Linked DNA regions of Homo sapiens: region 1 is linked to region 2. The links are contacts of gene promoters, found by promoter capture Hi-C in human tissues and cell types (Jung and others, 2019). All regions are on one chromosome and are shown on one strand. Each heading gives the region's core, a stretch centred on a gene start or on the middle of the fragment in contact. The rest is flanking DNA. Distances are from core to core; before and after follow the strand shown.

Region 1 (4,912 bases), core at 165-2,664, 110 kb after region 2:
ATGGGTGGTAAAATGTGGTACCAATTGCATTACAGTACACTAATGCATTTTGACGTGATCTTATTAATATAAGGATTCTTGATCCTGTTAAAAACTACATGGAGAGTCCCAGACTTTGAAATCGAGACAGTGGGACCTTGGCAGTATTTGGGGGTACCAAGCTGAATAATATTTTATTAGTGGCAAACACTAAACAGTAGCAGGCACTATTCTAAGCAGTTTACATATATTAACTAAGTTAATCCTCTTAACAACCCTGTGAGGTAAGTACTATTAATTCTCCTTTTACAGTTGAAGAAACTGACATACGGAAAGTTTAAATAACTCGCCTAAGGTCAAGGATTCAGAACAGCACCCATGTGACTCCAGAGTCATGAACCCCTGGAAAATTTTTCAGATTTCCTGGGATATTTGCCCCAGGAATCTGAAAGATGGTGGAAAGATTAACTGTATCTCAGGCACCCGAAGATACACTTATCTTGAGAAAACATTTGACTTTTTGGGTTTTGGCCCTCTGCCTTCAGCAGATATAAAGGACAATGTGGTACTTGTGAGAGCTGCTCAAAGTCTGAATCCACTGTCCTTCACTGGTCTTTATCAGCTAGCAAAAGATCAAGTTTAAGACCAAGGAGGCAGGAGAATGGCGTGAACCCGGGAGGCGGAGCTTGCAGTGAACCGAGATTGTGCCACTGCACTCCAGCCTGGGCGACAGAGTGAAACTCTGTCTCAAAAAAAAAAAAAAAGCCCCTGTCCACACCTCCAGCAGTTGCCAACATATAGCCGGGCGCGGTGGCTCACACCTGTAATCCCAGCACTTTGGGAGGCCGAGGCAGGCGGATCACGAGGTCAGGAAATCGAGACCATTCTGGCTAACATGGTGAAACCCTGTCTCTACTGAAAACACAAAAAATTAGCCGGGCGTGTTCACAGGTGCCTGTAGTCTCAGCTACTCGGGAGGCCGAGGCAGGAGAATGGCGTGAACCCGGGAGGTGGAGCTTGCAGTGAGCCGAGATTGCACCACTGCACTCCAGCCTGGGCGACAGAGTGAGACCCCATCTCAAAAAAAAAAAAAAAAAGACCAAGGAGATTACTCTGAAATACAATTTAATTATATCCTCAACACACAATATTAGATATTGGGCATGAGTCTGAAAGTAGAAATACATGGAGAAAGAAAGTTTTTTTTTCTCATAATTTTATTTTTAAAATTATCTTTTAGGTACCTACCCTTGTTGATAAATGAAGCATTTCTATAATCTTCAGTGCCTACCATGATAGTTGGAATGCATTTAGAGTTTACTTTTTCATTGTTTCTTTTTCCTTTATGTGATAAAATTTCCAGTTACTAACTTTCAAGAATGCAAAGTGTATAATTTATTGCTTTAAAATTTCTTTCTGAAGGTTTCAGTGTTGACTGGTGGGCTCTTGGAGTGCTCATGTTTGAGATGATGGCAGGAAGGTCTCCATTTGATATTGTTGGGAGCTCCGATAACCCTGACCAGAACACAGAGGATTATCTCTTCCAAGGTAATTTGGAGTATTTTACAGAGATTCTCTGAGAAAAACCTATTCTAGAGTACAAATGAGAGTGATTCAGGTTACTACTTTGAGTAAGAAAAATGAGCATAATCTGGAAAATATAATCCTGACTGGTGGTATTAGGTTTTGTTGTTGTTTTTGTTTGTTTTTGAGACAAGGTCTCACTCTTTTGCCCAGGCTGGAGTGCAGGGGCGCAATCTCGGCTCCATGCAACCTCCACCTCCCTGGTTCAAGCAATTCTTCTGCCTCAGCCTCCCGAGTAACTGGGATTACAGGCACACTCCCGAGTAACTGGGATTACAGGCACACACCACTATGCCCGGCTAAATTTTGTATTTTTAGTAGAGACAGGGTCTCACCATGTTGGCCAGGCTGGTCTTGAACTCCTGACTTCAAGTGATCTGCCCACCTCAGCCTCCCCAGCATGCTGAGATTACAGGCATGAGCCACTGCACCTGGCCTCTGTGTATTAGGTTTTGATGTTTTTTAATACATTCTTTCTTTTCTATAGTCTTCACTCCTGTTCACAGTTACCTTCTCATACTCAAAATCATAACAGGGGTTATTTAGAATTATCCATCACAAACAGATTGGAGAAAGGAATCCTGTGGCTAGAGAGATAATCTTTACACAGGGACCCTGAGGCTGAGTGCATAAGTTCAAGAACAGTATGAGGGGAAAATAGAGCACCAAGATGATGAGTGATCAAAAGATGGGGAAAAAAGGCCCCACATCAGGGAATATACAGAATTGACAGAAACAAGCAGACAAGTGCAGGGACCTCTAGCACAGAATCCAAAGAAGTATGAAAACTACTATAAAATTCTACATTTAATAATTAAAGCCATCACAGGATATAAATAGGCATTTCATGCCCAAATGGCCATGGAATATGTGAAAAGACATTCAGTCTCACTAGCAATTAAGGGAATGCACATTAAATGTTAATGAGTTACCATTTCATATCGGTACATTTGATCAAAATATTAAAGTTGGGTAATACCAGTGCTGGTGAGGATGTGGAGCAACTGGAACTCTTCTAGACTGCTGGTAGGAATGAAAACTGACACAACAGCTTTAAAGAATAATTTGGCAGTGTCCAAAAAAATTGCATATTATATATGCTAAGCATTTTACAAATGTTAACTCATTTAAACCTCATAACAATCCTATGAAGTATTTTTTTATTCCTATTTTACAGATGAGGAAACTGAGGCATAATTAGGTAGTCAAAGAATAAGACATTCATGTAAATGATAAATAGTATTCAGATTAGAGGCTTTCTCTGAGAAGATGGGAAAAGAAGGGGTTTAGGAAAGTACAGGAGGCACTTCAGTTATATATGTAATATCTTATTTTTTTTCCTGGAATGCCTTAAATATCTTATAATAAAAATTTAAAGATTGCACCCAGGCATAGTGGCTCACATCTGTAATCCCAGCACTTTGGGAGGCCGAGATGGGCGGATCACTTGAGGTTAGGAGTTTGAGACCAGCCTGGCCAACATGGCAAAACCCCGTCTCTACTAAAAATAAAAAAAAATTAGCTGGGCGTCGTGGCGGGCACCTGTAATCCTAACTACTCAGGAGGCTCAGGCAGGAGAATCACTTCAGCCTGGAGGCGGAGGTTGCAGTGAGCTGAGATCGTGCCACTGCACTCCAGTCTGGGCAAGACAGTGACACTCTGTCTCAAAAAAAAAAGAAAAAAGAAATTTAAAGATTGCCAGGTGCAGTGGTTCACACCTGTAATCCCAGCACTTTGGGAGTCCAAGGCAGGAGGATTGCTTGAACCCAGGAGTTCAAGACCAGCTTGAGCAATATGGTGAGACCCTTATCTCTACAAAAAAATTTAAAATTAGCCAGCCATTGCTGGGCGCAGTGGCTCACACCTGTAATCCCAGCACTTTGGGAGGCTGAGGTGGGCGGATCACTTACCTTCATGAGGTCAGGAGTTTGAGACCAGCCCGGCCAGCATGGTGAAACCCCATCTCTACCAAAAACACAAAACTCACTGGGCATAGTGGCACACGCCTGTAATCCCAGCTACTCAGGAGGCTGAAGTGGTAGAAGCACTTGAACCCGGGAGGCAGAGGTTGCAGTGAGCTGAGATCGTGCCACTGTGCTCCAGCCTGGATGACAAAACAAGACTCCATCTCAAAAAAAAAAAAAAAAAAAATTTAGCCGAGCGTGATGGTGGCGCCTGTGGTCCCAGCTACTTGGGAGGTTGAGGTGGAAGGATTGCTTAAGCCCGGGAGGTCAAAGCTGCAGTGAGCTGTGATTGCATCACTGCACTCCAACCTGGGCAACAGAACAAGCCCCTTTCAAAAAAGAAGAAAAAAGATTAAAGCCATGTAAAAGTTAAATATAATACTATAATTTTTATCTTTCTAGTTATTTTGGAAAAACAAATTCGCATACCACGTTCTCTGTCTGTAAAAGCTGCAAGTGTTCTGAAGAGTTTTCTTAATAAGGTATAAATTGTGTATAAGAATATTTTGTGATTTGTCTCTTTCTATATATATCAAACTGGTCAGTAGCGGTTTGGGAAATGTAAAATTCCAAAACAGTAGAGAATGTAACTTTTTCAGTTTGACCCAGAATTTGTCTCTTACCCAAAGAGTAATTGACAGCATTAGATCCTGAGATAAGTTAGTTGTCCTTTCCATTTTGGCAATAAAATTTACTCCCCAGCTATATATTACATAATTTTTGTGTATGTGTAAATAATATATACCATATTCTCACATAGGGGAAGAGTTAATCTTTGGGTTTAGCCATAATTGTACTTTGAACTCTGTTTCCATTTTCTCTGTATCATTATCCATAGAATCTATTTATTACCATGTACTTTTTGAGCACGTGGGCCGCAGTGCTCCCTACAAATTCTCATGTCAAAAATGCTATAATTAGGTAAGATTCGGAAGAAATGAAATGCTATCTTTGGCTCTTAAAAATGTGAACATCATTCAATTGTTTGTTGCTGTTGGTAGGCTAGAGGAGTTTTAGGATCTAGGAGTGTGGTCTTGGCAATTATAAATTCTACTTTAAATAAATGGTATGATAGAAAAGTTGATGTACATTTACCTTCTAAGGTAAATAGATAAGATAATGAGTTTTAATAAAATAAGAAATTGAAGCCTTTTAAAAAATGAACAATTTATGTGAGGAAAGATTTAAACTTGAAACCTAATTTTTCACATAGTGAAAAATGAAGGCAAGAGGTGTTGATATGCAAAATAAAATACCTTTTATCAGAAAGAAAAATGGGAACATATTCTCATTCATAGTGATGAATAAGCCAAGACTTTTTATAAGTTGCAGGCTCCTCAGTCCAGTGATTCAGATAATGGTTGTATCATTGTCTTACACAGGTG
Region 2 (5,566 bases), core at 1,217-3,716:
GGAAAATAAAAATTTAAGCAGTATCAGAGTATTTTAAAACATTTCTTTACATTCTTTTGACCACACTAATTACAAACTAAAGTCATTCTTACCTATACATTAGAACAGAATGCCTAGGGACTCATGTTAACTAGCTTAGTTTAGTTTACCATATAAACTTTGCTTAAAAATAAGTTCTTTTTAAAAAATGTTAAAAAGTAATTTTTTTAACTCACACTGGCTTTTCCCCTAATCAGTCTACAACGCTGTCCTTACTACTTCTAATAGCTGAGTTATACTTATTAGCAGATTGCTGTGAGAACACAGAGAAGCAGCAAACAGCAACTTCCCATACCCTTACAAAATCTTTTTCACAAAGAATTACTCCAGATTTTGAAAACATAAATTATGTCACTTCCTCATGTATGGACAGTAAAGTACACTTTTATACCAGACTTTCTTCCCTCCAATACTATAATCTTACTTGTTGTGGTACAAAATTCCACTAAATACAGAATCTGTATTTGAATAAATTCAAACACTTTAAGTCAATTCTAAGGACCTCCATATTGTTAGAAACCAGAAGAGCAGTAGTTTTTGTCGGGCCAGAAATGTACCTCGAAGGTGAAAAGCACACAAGAGATTATACTGGTTTTATCTCCCTTTTCTTATCGGTCTTTTCTTCTGAGAAACTAAATCCCACCCACCCCACATTAGCAGCACTGATAAAAATGTAAGAACACTTTCTATTCCATGAAAAAACAAATGAATCTGGCACTAATTGGTACACATACACTATTACCATAGCGTTGCTTTTTTAAGTACAAATTTTCTTTGTTCTATATTACGTATGTAAACAGTATTTATATTCTCTGAGGAACCAAATGTAAAAAAAAACCGAACAAAAAAAAAAAAAAAGGAAAAGTGGGGGCCTTGAGTGGCGGTTCACACCTGTCATCCTACCACTCAGGGGGAGGACTGCTTGAGCTTAGGCGTTCAAAGCCAGCCTGGGCAACATAGGGAAACCCTGTCTCTACAAATGAAAAATAAAAAATTAGCCAGGCCTGGTGGCACAGGACTGTGGTCCCAGCAACTTGAGAGGCTAAGGTGGGGAAATCGCTTGAGCCCAAGAGGGCCAGGCTGCAGTGAGCTATGATCGTGCCACTGCACTCCAGCCTGGGAGATAAGAGTGAGAGACGCTGTCACAAAGAAAGAAAAAGAAAATAAGAGGAAAAGTGAAAGGAAAACCGTCAGGAAGAAAGCTGACTCCTCACTTACTTTTTGGATTAGTAAATAATTCATACATTTTTATGCTTCTGTTTTTTTTTTTTTTTTCCAAACTGCCTTCCAATCAAATCACAGCATCATATGGTAACTGTTCAACATTATACAGTATTAGTGGTAGGTAAGGTAAACTTTTTACCGAACTGCTGCCTGTCATACTACTACCGTATCGTGTACCAGTGACATGCAAAAGGCCAGCTTAAGTTCTGGTTTTTTAAAAGTGTTAATCTGCTCAACTATGCCCTCCAATCCAAACAGTATGGTAAACAGTTCTAACTCCTAACCAAAAATGGTCACAGAGAATCCAAATTCTCGGCATAAGTCTAAACATCGGTTGAGCGGAACTGGCCAAACCATCGCACTGCATTTCGAGGCCTGGCACAAAAGAACAACTTTGGTAACTCCACCGTCTAGGCATACTAATACCTGCAAAATACAGCCAGCAGTTCTGGTGCACAAGAGGCCTACCCAGGAAACAGTAAGTTCTGGAGTCGTTAACTAAACATACCGTCACACCGACACACAAGAATGTGGCCCGCGTGTGAGGCAGCAACGCTGCACCCAGAGAATCGAGGGAAAGACCTTTCTTTCAGGGTGTTTTCAGCCTCACCAGACCTGCAAGCAGCCCCCGCCGCTCTCAGGCCCACGCCGGGATGCCTCCGGCACGAGGGAAGCGGGCAGCCCCGCGTGTCGGATTCTCCCGCTGAGGAGGAGTGGGGTGGCGCCGGGGCGGGAAGGAGAAGAAGGCGAAGGAGGCCTGGCAGTGCCCGCCCTGCCCTACCCAGCCTCCGCGGGCCCCTGCGCAGGCAGCCGTAACAAGGCTGCCCGCGGGGCCCACTTGCAGGAATGACAGCGCCTGAGGAGCCCACCCGGGCTCGTTCCCCGGAAAACCCCAGCTCCCGGAGTCCCAAGGGTGACCCTGCGCGCAGGGCCGCGCAGATCCGGGACCTGATGGCGGAAGGGGCGCTCCTGCCTGGAGGGTAACTGGACCCTAGAGTTCGTCTTCGCCCCGCGACACGGGCCTAGCCGGCTCCTCCACGATAGGACGGGTCTCGAGTCTCTCTTTCCCCACACTGCCCGCAAAAGAGCCCTGAGCTTTCCCCTGGGGGAACGTGTCGCTGCCCCAACTCGCCCCCCCTAGTTACGACATCAGTCACCATCTAGTCACTCACTCCGCTTCCGCCATCTTCTCTCCTCCATCACTAACATGGGCTGCGCATGCGCCCCCCGGCGGCGGGCGGAGAGGCGGGGTCGGCTCAGCCCCCGGAGCCAGAGGTCACGTGGCGTCCTCAGCTTCCAATCGCCCCCGCCCACCATAGGAATTGCTCTTTCTGGAAAGTGACCAGATTTCCCCCACTAAGATAACCAGTGTCTCCTCTCCAAACCCCTCTCTTTCTCTCCTCCAGGATCTTCCTCTTGGGGAGATATCTGTAATAAAGATATAAAAAGTTATCTTAGATTGTTAAATTTAAAATTTAAAGAATATGGGCGCGGTGGCTCACCTGTAATCCCAGCACTCTGGGAGGTTGAGGAGGATCTCTTGAAGCGAGGAGTTCAGGACCAGCCTTGACAATAAAGTGAGACCCTGACTCTACCAAAAAAAAGCCCAACAATAATAATAATAATAATAATAATTTTGAAGAATATCTAAAATATACCAAAGCCTATGCAAACTGCAGAGTGGTTTCAAAGAAAATACCCACGAGGATTAGAGGCTGAGGTCTCAGGGAGAAAGGAAATTCAGGGCTGGCTGCAGGGCTTGTTGCCTGGGAGCTTTGGGGCTTGAGGGTCCCAACCAGCAGTACCTCTCTCCAGCTGAAAGATAGTGTTCAGATGCCAGTGAATGAGTGGTTAAGGAATCATCCTGACTACCCTAGGCATATCATTCATGTCTTCAGTATGAATTTGCTGAGCGCTTAGTAGGAATTGCAAACTTGAACACCACAAGGAACAAGCAGGAACAGCCACCAGTTTGCTAGTGTAGTCTGCTAAATGCCAACAACTCAGGTGTGTGAGACAAACATATAAAGATAAGTAAAATAACACATTTAAATATAAATATGAAATAATAAAGATGAGTCCTTGTCTTCCAAGAAGTAGCGGAGCGGGTTTTATAGACATTTGCATACAATATAATGTGTTCTGAAGACCGGGACGATGGCTCACCCTCATAATACCAGCACTTTGGGAAGTGAAGTTGGGAGGATTGCTTGAGCCCGGGAGTTTGAGACCACCCTGGGCAACATGGGGAAATCCCATCTCTACAAAAAATACAAAAATTATCCGGATGTCGTGGCGCGCACCTGTCATCCCAGCTACTCAGGAGGCTGAGGAAAAAGTGTTCTGAAACAGATCTATTAAGTGCTTTGGAAAGTTTAAAGTTCAAGGTGTATAATAAATCTTTACCTCCCTTTACAGGAAAAAAAAAGCATACGAACCATAAACAATGTCTCTTTTTGCATTTTGTGAGGTGATGGAGTCACAATAATTTCAAGAACTGAGAATGAAGTATTGATATAAATCCATCCGGAAGTGTAATATGGTCTGATGAAAAGTATACTTAGTCTTAGAAATCCTATATGCCAGGATGTGCCTAAGGAAGGGAAAAGAACACTTCCCATCTATGTGAGCTTAAATTGTCCCTTTGCCCACTTTTCCCATCTGATAACATCTTTTTTTTTTACCTTGTCTACCTAATAGCAGTACTATCTACTACTACTTCTAGAATTCATTGAGAAAGTCTCCTTTTAAAAGTCCCTGTAGACCAGGCACAGAGGCTCACTCCTGTTATACCAGCAATTTGGGGGGCCGAGGAAGGCGGATAACCTGAGGTCAGGAGTTCAAGACCAGCCTGGCCAACATGGTGAAACCCTGTCTCTACTAAAAATACAAGAATTAGCCGGGTGTAGTGGCACCTGCCTATAATCCCAGCTACTCCAGAGGCTGAGGCAGGAGAATCGCCTGAACCTGGGAGATGGAGGTTGCAGGGAGACAGTGCCACTTCATTACAGCCTGGGAAAGAGACTGAGACTCCATCTCAAAAGAAAATAAAAAGTCCTTGTAGATGCTTTAAAATATTACTGCTTTTTCTTTCATTCTGACTTGCTCATATATCATTGTTATTAAACTTTTTTTTTTTAAATTGAGACGGAGTATTACTCTGTCGCCCGGGTTGGAGTGCAATGATGAGATCTCGGCTCACCACAACCTCCGCCTCCCGGATTCAAGCGATTCTCCTGCCTCGGCCTTCCGAGTAGCTGGGATTACGGGCACGTGCCACCACACCCAGCAAACTTTTTCTATATTTTTGGTAGAGACGGGGTTTCACCATGTTGGCCAGGCTGGTCTTGCACTCCTGACATCAGGTGATCCACTGGCCTCAGCCTCTCAAAGTGCTAGGATTACAGGCGTGAGCCATTGCACCCGGCCTTTTATTAAACTTCCAAGAATCGGCCGGGCGCGGTGGCTCATGCCTGTAATCCCAGCACTTTGGGAGGCCAAGGCGGGTGGATCACCAAACGTCAGGAGTTCAAGACCAGCCTGGCCAATATGGTGAAACCCCATCTCTACAAAAAATACAAAAATTAGCCGGGCGGTAGTGGCGTGTGCCTGTAATCCCAGCTACTCCGGAGGCTGAGGCACGATGATTGCTTGAACCCAGGAGATGGAGGTTGTGGTGAGCGGGGATGGTGCCACTGCCCTCCAGCCTGCCAATAAAGCGAGACTCCGTCTAAAAAAAAAAAAAAAAAACACAAAACTTTCAAGAATCAACTATACATTGGTATTGCTGAAACTATTTTGTTTAGAGAAACAAAAGTGAAGAAAGCACAGTCTTAGGCCTAAACATGGAAAATGCATAAATCAAAGATGTATTTGGAATACATAGGCCAAAATTGTTCTTTTTTTATCCTCCTTTCACTTGAACATCTAGGTCCTATATCCCTAGTGTTACCTCGTACAGATTGCCTTTAAAAATGAGAATATATGTCCGGTCACGGTGGCTCATGCCTGTAATCCCAGCACTTTGGGAGGCCAAGATGGGCGGATCGCCTGAGGTCAGGAGTTCGAGACCAGCCTGGCCAGCATGGTAAAACCCGGTCTCTACTAAAACTACAAAAATTAGCTGGGCATGGTGGCAGGCGCCTGTAATCCCAGCTACTCGGGGAGGCTGAGGCAGGATAATCACTCGAACCCAGGAGGCAGAGGTTGCAGTGAGCTGAGATCACGCCATTGCACTCCAGCCTGGGCAACAGAGCGAGACTCCATCTAAAAAAAAAAAGCCAGGGGGGAATATATGTTGGGT

Evidence for each region. Contacts are between HindIII fragments. The study calls those that stand out against the background at their distance.
Region 1: a fragment that was not itself captured here is called in contact with the fragment with the promoter of PHC3 in region 2 in 2 of the 25 tissues and cell types used here (mesenchymal stem cells and ovary).

The regions. Positions count from the first base shown.
Region 1 is chr3:170,291,982-170,296,893 of GRCh38, forward strand. It overlaps PRKCI (protein kinase C iota), which reads left to right. Exons shown (of 18, transcript NM_002740.6): 14 at 1,402-1,527; 15 at 3,930-4,009. Among named protein-coding and RNA genes, the nearest start is that of SKIL, 63 kb to the right of the region's middle. The HindIII fragment of the contact is 9,133 bases long and covers 1-4,912 here.
Region 2 is chr3:170,179,267-170,184,832 of GRCh38, forward strand. It overlaps PHC3 (polyhomeotic homolog 3), which reads right to left and starts at 2,467. Exons shown (of 15, transcript NM_024947.4): 1 at 2,436-2,467. The coding sequence starts at 2,449. RefSeq lists silencers at 1,932-2,011, 2,482-2,621. The HindIII fragment of the contact is 20,619 bases long and covers 1-5,566 here.